2 separate regions of the Homo sapiens genome follow, and region 2 is linked to region 1. The links are contacts of gene promoters, found by promoter capture Hi-C in blood cells and fetal thymus (Javierre and others, 2016). All regions are on one chromosome and are shown on one strand. The core of a region is centred on a gene start or on the middle of the fragment in contact, and the rest is flanking DNA. Distances in the headings are between cores, read along the strand shown. Region 1 holds the start of THAP5 (THAP domain containing 5). Region 2 overlaps LOC124901706 (a long non-coding RNA gene).

Region 1 (6,219 bases), core at 1,195-3,694:
AGTATGACAAGCATAACCAGAAAAGGAATTTTAAAGGCAGACAAATTTTCTTTTAGAGGACCTGACTTCTTCTGGCCATTGGTAAATTCATTTCTTTTGTTACAACTGAAATGAGAATAGGCCTTTTACAATAATGCTTTTTACTGTAAATTCATGTATATGGATGCTGTTTGCAAATTATTTCCATTGTACCTATATGCTAAGTTATCAACTCATTAAAAAAAACTTTGTGAATATCCTTATTGTTTACTGGATTGTATTGCTTCAATAGGTAAATCTCTAAGAAATCTTGATCATGTTTCCTGAATAAATTATGTCTTTATATTGGTTCAATTCATTTGATAATTTTGTTTCATTGTCTTATGTAATTCCCCAAAAGGCATAAGATAATCACAGTACAAACTGGACACTATATTAACTGAATTCCCAAATTCATATACATTTAAACTACAGTTTGCTGTAGTGTTAACATGAGCAAATTCAATTCAAGTTTGACGCTACTGGAGAATAAAACTAATTCAATTTTTATTTTGTGGATTACACAAGAAAATTTTTTAAAAACCCTAGAAATAATACAACTTTTACTAAATTCACATTTTCAGTGAAAAAAATCTTTACAATTCACTTGCATTATTTTTTCCTTCCTAAAAAGTTACTGTAAGGTCCACAAAGTTTAGTTAAAAATTTCAGTGTGGGGTTATACCCCATCTCCAATATCAAAGGCCAAATAAATCTGGGAAATACGGGGTTAAATCAAGTTCAACATGATCTTTTGCTACAAACATTCTCAGAGATAGAGCCATTAGTACAGTAGTATTTCCCTATAAACTGAAAGTGGATTAGATTGTTTTCCTCCCCCAAACATCTCTTTGCATCTTGAGGCTGGGCTTCAAGGGAGACAATCCTGGAAATATTGCCATGGATTGTGAATTACTTGGGGTTATCAGTTTTTTTTTCTTTTGAGACGGAGTTTCGCTCTTGTTGCTCAGGCTGTGGTGCAATGGTGTGATCTCGGCTCACCTCAACCTCCACCTCCCAGGTTCAAGCGATTCACCTGCCTCAGCCTCCCGAGCAGCTGAGATCACAGGCATGCGCCGCCACGCGCAGCTAATTTTGTATTTTTAGTACAGACGGGGTTTCTCCATGTTGGTCAGGCTGGTCTCAGACTGCCGACCTCAGGTGATCTGCCCGCCTCAGCCTCCCAAAGTGCTGGGATTACAGGCGTGAGCCACCGCGCCTGGTGGGGTTATCAATTTTTTTTCCATTAATTAAAATACTGGAAAGCAGCCGAATCATTAATGAATAAGTCCTTCAGGTCTAAAGTAAAATGAGCACAAAACAACTGCTGAAAATCTGAACCAGGTTAGATCTAAATGAATTGTTTTTAAATACAAGAAAAAATGGAAATGCAGTATTTTAAATATGTTGCTTTTCATGTGTTATTAATCATGTGAGTACTATTAACATCTCCATGTTACAGATGAGATATGTGAGACACCAAAGCTTAAATACTTTCCAAGAGGTCATTAAGCTACAGAATAGTGGAACCAGGATCTAGCATTGAAGCCTGGACCCCTAATTATTATACGACACTGCTTGTCTGTACTTCTGAATAAAAATCAGTGCTTCAGTAGTTTGATGGAAATATATCGTGGCTCTAGTAATTCAGAGTAACAGAATAAAACCTTGTTCTCCGCAGAGTATCTACAGCCCTAAGCAGAAGACTAGTTTATAATTCTGGCTCTGACACTAAACTTTCAAGGTCGGTTACCTAATCATTCCGGGCCTCAGTTTCCTCAGGAGAAAAGTGGGATGAAATTATACCTATGCGACCTACCTCGCGGGGGGTGTAAATTAACTTTGCGTGCACCTTTCCACTTCGCAGGTTTCACGTATCTTAAATGGTGGTTAATGTTGTTCAATGAAATGAGATCACGTGAAGTGGGGAAAAGACTGAAAACCACAGAAGCCCGCGCAAACTTTACTGTTTTAACTGTTAACACCCAAACAGGCTCCTGGGCCTCGCCACCAGCCAGCAGTCCTCGCGCAAGAAGGGCATTGCTAGCTAAACTGAACTAGCGCCTTCCCTCCGTCTTGCCGCGGGCGACGGGCCACGTACGGAGAGCTGAGGACTCACTGGCAGAGCGGACAGGAGACACCCAAGCCCAAAGGCCACAGGTCCAAGGCCTCACGGCGAGGCTGACGCTTCTGCTCCAGAAACAACTTACGGATAAAAACTCAGCTTCCGGTCTTTATTGTTTCGTCCCCGGCGGTTCTTACAACAAATCGCTGCGCAATAGCGGGGCATGACTCGGGTGAGGCCCCTGGAGACCGGGGCCGGCGACGGATGCAGGGCGGCCCTCCTCACTGAGGATGCGCCACAGGTCCAGGCCTCTCGAGCCCCTGCGCCTGCGCTAGCATTCTGCCGGGAAAGCCGCCTCGTCTGTCGACTCACTTCCGCCTCCTCCGGTTTAAGCACCGCCTTTTCGGGGGTTGAAGCCGGAAGTGGCGCACAGCCCTAGCAGCAACAACAGTTTTCCACGTGCGCGTAGGGCGCCGGGATCACGTGGGGAGGCAGAAGCCAATGGGGAAGCGTTTCGTGTAGGTCTTCTGAGGTGGTGGCGCCAGCGGCTACCTCCTGCCTGTGAGGAGCTGGCTGAGAGGGGACTGGGCGCCGGCGGGGAAGGAGGAGCGCTAGGTCGGTGTACGACCGAGATTAGGGTGCGTGCCAGCTCCGGGAGGCCGCGGTGAGGGGCCGGGCCCAAGCTGCCGACCCGAGCCGATCGTCAGGGTCGCCAGCGCCTCAGCTCTGTGGAGGAGCAGCAGTAGTCGGAGGGTGCAGGTGAGGGACGAGGCCGGGGTCGTGGGGAGGGGAGTTCGGAGGGTCCCCGTAGCCCAGGCCTGTCTTTGTGAGCTGACTTGGCCTCGGTGTCCGCCACGGTCGCCGCAGGGACAATGGGCTGCATGTTTTTGGCCGAGAGAATGGAAGAACGGAGACAGCCGCATCACAGAATCGTGTTTTGGGTTGTGGCGCCGGCTTTCACGGGCGCCGGATTAGAGCCCGGGTCTCGGGCAGCTTCTGCGGCGGGGCCTGGGCGGGCAGGGAAAGTGCCAGTCGCCTTTAGGTGAAGGTTGGAGGGTCTAGCCCAGCCGCCCACCGAGGCTGGGGAATAAGGCACGGGCTGCTGGCTGGCGGGGCCGTCTTGGGGATGAGAAGTCTGTACAATACAAAACTAGTCTGCTAAAAAAAAATCATTAGATGTCCACCTTGAGACCGTGGAATAACGTCTGCTGAACCAGTGAGGCGCCTCCCTGTCAGTTTTAGATCCGCCCTTTGACTAGGGAGCAACCTGCAGTTGACGCAGCGTCCATGGGACACACTGTTGTGTTCCTTAAACCGAGAAGTGGTTCTTGATTCTTGGTACCCGTGACTACGAGTAACTCTCTGGAAATAAGTAATCTACCTGCCTGCTAATTACTCTCAGGAAAGGCCGCTGGAGAGGAAGCCAGGCAATTTCCACAAACCGTAGTGTTTTTCGTCAGCCTTATTATGGCATTATAGGTTACTAAGGACTCTGGTGGTCCCGTATTCAAAAAACAGGATCCATCCCTTCGTTTTGAATCTCAAGTCATTGAATACATATTGTCAAGAATTCTAAGTTAACATTTCTTTAATGGTTTAAAGGTAAAAGAAATATTTTAACTACTGAGTTTGTGAAAGTAAGAATCTGCCTTAACCACAGTACAAACTATCAAAGTTCATTTTTCTGGCAGCTTTAGCAGAAATCTTAAATTCTGTTCATCATGAGTTTTAAACAATATTTAGCCATGCTTCCTGGTTAAACATTTGGGATCTTACATTTGGGAAAAAGACAACATTCTATTGTATTGTCAGTATTAGTATTGTGATATTAAGATTCTCTATTTGCAGTCCTTGGCTCACCTGCTGAAATGAAAGCTGAATTTTTGGAGCGAGATTAATAATACTAATTTAGATATACTGGGCTATTTACCTTGGTGCGCCACCTTTTTTTTTTAATGTTTTTTTTTTCTGTGAAGTTAAATACATTATTACTTTCAGGATATGAAGTCTTGAAAGGAAAGTTGGGATCTTATATTATTTGGTTTTCTTTTTTTTTCTTACAATGCTTGCATATGATGAATCTTCAATATAAACTGGTTAAAAGTCAGTTATTGATAATTTTCTATCTCCTCTGTGTATGGCCAGAGTATTAGTAGACAGACAAAGCCAAGAATTATTTTTGTTCTCAATAAGGTTAAGCCAGTTTGAGAGTTATAAAACTAAAAGTGAAATTACATGTGGACAGGTAATAGATACTGTATGCTTACTATTTTGATACTGCATTAGGTTTACCTTGTGTTGGATTTCTTTTAAAAGAAAAACGTTTTAAGATTAGCTCCATCCATAACATTTTTTTTTCTTTTCTGTTTTAGGATATTAGAAATGGCTACTCCCCAGTCAATTTTCATCTTTGCAATCTGCATTTTAATGATAACAGAATTAATTCTGGCCTCAAAAAGCTACTATGATATCTTAGGTGTGCCAAAATCGGCATCAGAGCGCCAAATCAAGAAGGCCTTTCACAAGTTGGCCATGAAGTACCACCCTGACAAAAATAAGAGCCCGGATGCTGAAGCAAAATTCAGAGAGATTGCAGAAGGTAAATAAATGACAATCTCTGAAGTGTCATGGGTATTAACTAGTAAGGAGAATGATAGCTAAGAAGTGTTTGTATTTGAAGGTTTTGTGGAGATGGGAGGTGGAGTGGGATTTATGTATAAATATTGGGTGATTCTCTGAGATTATTTTCTTATCACAGATGCTTTGATTCCTGAATAAATATATGAAAGAATAATAGATAATTTTATTGGTATACGTATCTAAAAATATTGAAAATCTATTCTATATTATTTATAAGATCACTGTTGCTTCTATGACAAAAAAGAATTTTAGGTACCCAAAATTCTTATCAACTAACTTATGAAACAGAATATTTTACATTTTAAACATTAAAGACTTAAAAATTAAACTAGACTCTAAAGTGCTTTATTCACTTGATCTGCTTTTCAAAGCCATATTTGTCTTCAAAGAAAAAATTGGAACAAATTTTGACTTCAGACTAGCTCTAAAACAAATTGCACCTGCTGAGCATTCAGTAATTATTGTTGGATGGAGGTAACTGAGTAGGGAGTTAGAATTAAACAGTTTACTTTAGTAAGGAGGTGCAAAATCTTAATTCCTATTAATTGGTTATAGTTGATGGTTTAATTTTTTAATACAATTAATGATTTCACACGAATAATATGAAGATTAAAGAACTCTGATTGTTGCCCACATGTTTATTTGTAGTAATGGTAACATTTAATAACTTTATTGAGTATTGCAGATGGCATTGTGCCAACTGCTGATAACTCAGCAGTTAATAAGACAGTTTCTGCTTTATTTTATAATTTTGATTAACTTGATGCTTATATTTGTAGTGTTTTGCTTTTATTTCTGATGCGAAATTCTTCCCTAAAATAATAGTATTCAGTTCACTTGCTTGAAGAGATTTGAATATATGTAATTTTGAATATTTTACCTTCAGTTACTAAAAATATTTTTGTCACTTTCAGCATATGAAACACTCTCAGATGCTAATAGACGAAAAGAGTATGATACACTTGGACACAGTGCTTTTACTAGTGGTAAAGGACAAAGAGGTAGTGGAAGTTCTTTTGAGCAGTCATTTAACTTCAATTTTGATGACTTATTTAAAGACTTTGGCTTTTTTGGTCAAAACCAAAACACTGGATCCAAGAAGCGTTTTGAAAATCATTTCCAGACACGCCAGGATGGTGGTTCCAGTAGACAAAGGCATCATTTCCAAGAATTTTCTTTTGGAGGTGGATTATTTGATGACATGTTTGAAGATATGGAGAAAATGTTTTCTTTTAGTGGTTTTGACTCTACCAATCAGCATACAGTACAGACTGAAAATAGATTTCATGGATCTAGCAAGCACTGCAGGACTGTCACTCAACGAAGAGGAAATATGGTTACTACATACACTGACTGTTCAGGACAGTAGTTCTTATTCTATTCTCACTAAATCCAACTGGTTGACTCTTCCTCATTATCTTTGATGCTAAACAATTTTCTGTGAACTATTTTGACAAGTGCATGATTTCACTTTAAACAATTTGATATAGCTATTA
Region 2 (6,219 bases), core at 984-3,483, about 10 Mb before region 1:
ATATGGTCTCTGTATTTACCAGCGGCTGGAAGCTCGCTTTGTACGTTACTCTGCACAACACCACATGACTGCTCCTGACAGTAATTTGAGGAGCTTCTGGTGATGGTAAACTTGCACAGTATGTTCAAAACCAACCTACAATCTGTGTTACGCCTGTATGTTTCACAAGGAACATGTCTGTATATTTCGACTCCAGAAATATAATTTGTCAAACCAATTATCGTACCTAAAATGTCTTGTGCTGTGTTTTATAATAATTTACGCAAATGAGTTTCATTTCATGTAATTAACCTATTCCAGTGTGATGTTTCTCACCCCAACTTTGCCAGCTCTCTTTCCAGCACAGAAACAGATTCCGCTAACCATCGCCAAAGGCAGGACCTGTGAACAGCTGAAGCATCTCCTGGTCTCTGCTCTGCTGAGCCTTCCATAGCAAATCCCAGGCAGACAGGGTCCTGAGGATTGATGGCACCTGAGCAGCAGTTGTGACCTTCCGCAACATTCTCTTATGCCTCTATAAAAGCCAGTAATCTCCCGGCATGATGGCTCATGCCTATAACGTCAGAGTTTTGGAAAGCGGAGGTGGGAGGATCACTTCAGGTCAGGAGTTTGAGACCAGCCTGGGCATCAAAGTGAGCCTCTATCCCTACAAAACATTTTTTTAATTAGCCAGATGTGGTAGTGCGTGTCTGTAGTCCCAGTTACTAGGGAGGCTGAGGCAAGAGGATCGCTTAAGCCTAGGAGGTCGAAGCTGCAGCGACCTGTGATTGCACCACTGCACTGCAGCCTAGGTGATGGAGCAAGACCCTGTCTCAAAAGAAAAAAGAAGGGCCGGGCATGGTGGCTCACTCCTGTAATCCCAGCAGTTTGGGAGGCCGAGGCAGGCAGATCACGAGGTCAGGAGATTGAGACCATCCTGGCCAACACGGTGAAACCCTGTCTCTACTAAAAATAAAAAAAATCAGCTGGGCGTGGTGGCACGCGCCTGTAGTCCCAGCTACTCGGTAGGGCGAGACAGGAGAATCGCTTGAACCCGGGAAGCGGAGGTTGCAGTGAGCCGATATCGCGCCACTGCACTCCAGCCTGGGTGACAAGGCAAGACTCTGTCTCAAAAAAAAAAAAAAAAAGAAAGAAAAAAGAAGAAAGAAGAAAAAGAAACAAATGGTCAATAAACTTATGAAGAAGTGCTCAACTACAGCGATAAGCAGGAAAATGCAAATTAAACCCACAATGAGTTGCCTGCCAGACAGGCTAAGGGAGTAGAAGTACGAGCTGGTGCCATCACTGGGGAAATCAGTGACATGACCTCATAGAGCTGAAGCTAAGATTGTGCTGTGGCCCAGCAGTGATTTAGGTGCTGTACGTACACACCTTACCAGCATTCTCTATGTAACAACAGCCCCAGGTGTCCATCTGTAGTGGAATGCATGATCAGTGTGATGGAGTCACATTAGGTTGCTGCAAAAGGACTTGTGGTTTTGGCCATTAAAAGTAATGACAGGGTGGGTGCGATGGCTCACACCAGTTATCCCAACGCTTTGGGAGGCCGAGGTGGGCAGATCACTTGAGGTCAGGAGTTTGAGACCAGCCTGGCCAAAATGGCAAAACTCTCTGCTCAAAATACAAAAATTAGCTGGGCATGGTGGCACACACCTGTAATCCCATCTACTCAGGAGGCTGAGGCAGGAAAATTGCTTGAACCCAGGAGGTGGAGGTTGCAGTGAGATGAGATCATGCAACTACACTCCAGCCTGGGCAACAGAGTGAGACTCCGTCTCAAAAAAAAAGAAAAAAGAAAAAAAGAAAAAAGGCCAGGCATAGTAGCTCACGCCTGTAATCCTAGCACTTTGGGAGGCCGAGGCAGGTGGATCACCTGAAGTCAGGAGTTCGAGACCAGCCTGGCCAACATGGCAAAACCTCATCTCTACTGAAAATGCAAAAATTAATTGGGCATGGTGGCGCATGCCTGTAATCCCAGCTACTCAGGAGGCTGAGGCAGGAGAATCACTTGAACCCCAACGGTGGGGTGAGGTTGCAGTGAGCCAAGATCGCACCACACCACTGCACCCCAGCCTGGGTGACAGAGTAAGACTCCTCTAAAATAAATAAATAAGTAAAAGTAATGACAAAAACCACAATTTCTTTGGCACCAACCTAATACAGTGTAATATTATTGGTAACAAAACAATGAAGTACAACTAAATGCAACAACATGAATGAGTCTTGAACATACACCAAGGAGAGAAAAACCAAACACAAAAGAATATATGTGATCCCATTGACATGTGAATTTCAAAAACAGCCAAGAACTTTATTATAGTGTTTGAGAGTGTATGTTTGGTAGTAAAAGTATAAAGACGGCCAGGCGCGGTGGCTCACCCTTGTAATCCTAGCACTTTGGGAGGCCGAGGTGGGTGGATCAAAAGGTCAGGAGTTCGAGACCAGCCTGGCCAACATGGTGAAATCCCATCTCTACTAAAAATACAAAAAATTAGCTGGGAGTGGTGGTGTGCGCCTGTAATCCCAGCTATTTGGGAGGCTGAGGCAGAAGAATCGCTTAAACCCAGGGGGCAGAGGTTGCTGTAAGCTGAGATGGCGCCACTGCCCTCCAGCCTGGGCGACAGAGCGAGACTCCATCTCAAAAAAAAAAAATGTATAAAGACAAGGAGGTGATTAGCATAATGTTACAACAACCAGGATGTGGATGCCTTTGGGGCAGGAAAGGAACACAGAGGGTTGGCCGTGGCCGGCAAGATTCTCATGCTTGACCTTGGTGGTGTCAGGTTTTGCTTTACAATAATTCACAAGATTTATGTCTGATATGCTTTTCTCTGTGTCTTATGTTTTACAATTAAGGAAGGGTTTTACAAAGCACATATGGTCCAGCCTGGCCAACATAGTGAAACCTGTCTCTACTAAAAAATACAAAATTAGCTGGGCATGGTGGTGCGGGCCTGTAGTCCCAGCTACTTGGGAGGCTGAGGTGGGAGGATCACTTGAGCCTGGGAGGTGGAGCAAATCACCTAATTTTACATGAATGGGATAACTTATCAAGTGACAGCATCACACGATTTGTGTGTGTGTGTGTGTGTGTGTGTGATGGGGTCTCGCTCTGTCACCCAGGCTGGAGTGCAGTGGCATAATCATAGTTCACAGTAGCCTCAACCTCCTGGGCTCAAGCAATCCTCCACCCCCAGCCTCTTGAGGAGCTGCGAGTATAGGTCTGCACCACTATGCCTGGTTAATCCCAGCCTCTTGAGTAGCTGGGAGTATAGGTCTGCACCACCATGCCTGGCTAATTTTTTTGTTTTTTTTTTTTGAGATGGAGTTTTGCTCTCGTTGCCCAGCCTGGAGCGTGGTGGCCTGATCTTGGCTCACTGCAAACTCCGCCTTCCAGTTTCAAGCGATTCTCCTGCTTCAGCCTCCCGAGTAGCTGAGATTACAGGCGCACACAACCACGCCTTGATAATTTTTGTATTTTTAATAGAGACAGGGTTTCACCATGTGAGCCAGACTGGTCTCAAACTCCTGACCTTGTGATCTGCCGGCCTCGGCCTCCCAAAGTGCTGGGATTACAGGCGTGAGGCACCGCACCCAGCCACTAACTTTTTTTTTTTTTTTTTTGAGACGGAGTCTCACTCTGTCGCCAGGCTGGAGTGCAGTGGCGCGATCTCATGATTATTTGAGGGAGCCTTCCTTGGAGCTCAGCACATGTAAGGGCAGACCCAGTAGCTGTTATCAGCCCCATCTGTCAATGGAAAGAGAAAGTAACTTGCCTAAGTTCACACAGCTAGTCAGAATTCTTGGGTTGCTGAGGAAGGATGAACCATCATAGGCTGGAAATGAAATAGGTCAAAACTCCTTCAAATAATTTTATAAATGTTGGCTCAACTTCTTGAGAATGAAAATAATACATGTCTATTTATAACACTTATTAATTTGGTTTTACCTACATTTTTCTTTTTTCTTTTTTTTTTTTTTGGAGATACAGTCTCGCTGTCGCCCAGGCTGGAGTGCAATGGCGTGATCTCGTCTCATTGTGACCTCTGCCTCAAGTGATTCTCGTGCCTCAGCCTCTACGGTAGCTGGGATTACAGGTGCTCACCACCATGCCTGGCTAATTTTTGTATTTTTAGTAGAGACGGAGTTTTGCCATGTTGGCCAGGCTGGTCTCAAACTCCTGACCTCAAGTGATCCACCCGCCACAGCCTCCCAAAGTGTTGGGATTACAGGCATGAGCCACAGCACCCAGCCATTATGTACATATTTCAAATCACATTTTGTAGAGAGATTATCTTTAGTAAATGCTTTTCTTTTTTTGTTTTTAGAGACACAGTCTCACTATATTGCCCAAGCCAAAGTGCAGGTGTGATCATTGCACATGACAGCCTCAAACTCCTGGGCTCAAGCAATCTTCCTGCCTCAGCCACCTGAGTAGCCAGGTGCGGATCAGTAGTGGGACTCTGCTGGTGAATAGCCATTGCAACCTGGGCAATATAGCAAGACCTTGTAATCCCAGTACTTTGGGAGGCCTGGGCAGGTGGGTGGATCACTTGAAGTCAGGAGTTTGAGACCAGCCTGTTCAACATGGTGAAACCCCATCTTTACTAAAAATGCAAAAATTAGCCAGGCATGGTGGCAAGTGCCTGTAATCCCAGCTACTCGGGAGGCTGAGGCAGAAGAATCTCTGTAAGATAAAAGCTTATAAGATAAAAAACAAGTTGGTTACTTCCAATATACAATGGTGGTACCAGCAATGGGTAAACATTCCCATTCCAAAAGGGAGAAATTGGCCAACAGAAAGAGGTAACAGGCTCCAGGCAAGTCTGAAACCCAGCAGGGCAGACATTAAGCCTTAAAGCTAAATCTCCCTTTACTCCATGTCAAGGGAGAGCCCCCATGACTGTTCTCCCAGGTTAGAGTCTGCTGCCTGTGGCTTTTCCAGGCTGAGGATGCCAGCAGCTGGTGGATCTACCTTTCTTGGGTCTGGTCTGGAGAGTAGTGGTCCCCTTCCCACAGCTGCACTAGGCAGTGCCCCAGTGGGGCCTCTATGTGTGGGATCCAACCCCACATTTCCCCTCAGCACTCCCCTAGTAGAGTCTCTCTGCAGGGGCTCCATCTCTGCTGCAGGCTTCTGCCTGGGCACCTGGGCTTTCTGATACATCCTGTGACATCTAGGTGGAAGCTGTTAAGCCTCCTTCACTCTTGCATTGTGTGCACCTGCAGGTTTAACACCACGTGGAAGCTGCCAAGTCTTACAGATTGTGCCTTTAGGAATAGCAGTTCAGTTAGATCTGGGACCTTTGGCCTGCGGCTGGAGCTGGAGAGCCAAAATATAGGAAGCAGTGTCCTGAGGCTGCACAGGACAGTGGAGCCCTGGCCCTGGCCCTGGCCCCTGAAGCCATGCTTTCCTCCTAAGCCTCTGGGCCTGTGATGGGAGGGGCTGTCCTGAAGACTTCCAAAATGGCTTCCAGGCCTGTTTTCCATCTCTTGACTCTTAGCACTTGGCTCCCTTTTAGTTATGTAAATCTCTCTACCAAATGATTGCTCCACAAGCTCCTTGAATTCCACCTCCGAAAATGTTCTTTCCTTCTCTACCTACCACATGACCAGGCTGCAAATTTCCAAATTGTTATGCTCTGCTTCCCATTTATTTATTTACTTATTTATTTATTGAGATGGACTTTTGCTCTTGTTGCCCAGGCTGGAGTGCAGTGGCACAGTCTCAGCTTACTGCAACCTCCGCCTCCCAGATTCAAGTGATTCTCCTGCCTCAGCCTCCCGAGTAGCTGGGATTACAGGTGTGCGCCACCACACCCAACTAATTTTTGTATTTTTAGTAGAGATGGGGTTTCACCATATTGGCCAGGCTGATCTCACACTCCTGACCTCAGGTGATCCACCCTTCTTGGCCTGGGTGACAGAGTGAGACTCTGCTAAAAAGAAAAAAGAAAAAAACCAGATCTTGCATGAACTATTAGAGCAAGAACTGATTCATTACCATGAGGGTGGTACCAAGCCATTCACGAGGGATCTGTCCCCATGACCCAGACACCTCCCACTGGGCCATGCCTTCAACACCGGGGGCCACGTTTCAGCATGAGATTTGCAGGGGACAAACATCCAAACCAGATTAACACCACAACCCCATCCTTGGGTTTAAAAATTTGCTAGAATGATTTAGGGAAACATCACTTATGTTCACCAGGTTCATTTTTT

What was found. The method cuts DNA at HindIII sites, captures the fragments that hold promoters and counts their contacts. A CHiCAGO score of 5 or more calls a contact.
Region 2: a fragment that was not itself captured here is called in contact with the fragment with the promoter of THAP5 in region 1 in 1 of 17 cell types (neutrophils); the score reaches 6.5 in neutrophils.

Annotation. Positions count from the first base shown.
Region 1 is chr7:108,567,262-108,573,480 of GRCh38, forward strand. It overlaps THAP5 (THAP domain containing 5), which reads right to left and starts at 2,445. Exons shown (of 3, transcript NM_001130475.3): 1 at 2,229-2,445. The coding sequence starts at 2,308. It overlaps DNAJB9 (DnaJ heat shock protein family (Hsp40) member B9), which reads left to right and starts at 2,613. Exons shown (of 3, transcript NM_012328.3): 1 at 2,613-2,842; 2 at 4,456-4,682; 3 at 5,638-6,219. The coding sequence starts at 4,466. The coding sequence ends at 6,092. RefSeq lists enhancers at 2,028-2,507, 2,041-2,768. The HindIII fragment of the contact is 6,219 bases long and covers 1,502-6,219 here.
Region 2 is chr7:98,256,540-98,262,758 of GRCh38, forward strand. It overlaps LOC124901706 (a long non-coding RNA gene), which reads left to right. Exons shown (of 2, transcript XR_007060448.1): 2 at 1-217. Among named protein-coding and RNA genes, the nearest start is that of TECPR1, 7.4 kb to the left of the region's middle. The HindIII fragment of the contact is 4,932 bases long and covers 1-4,699 here.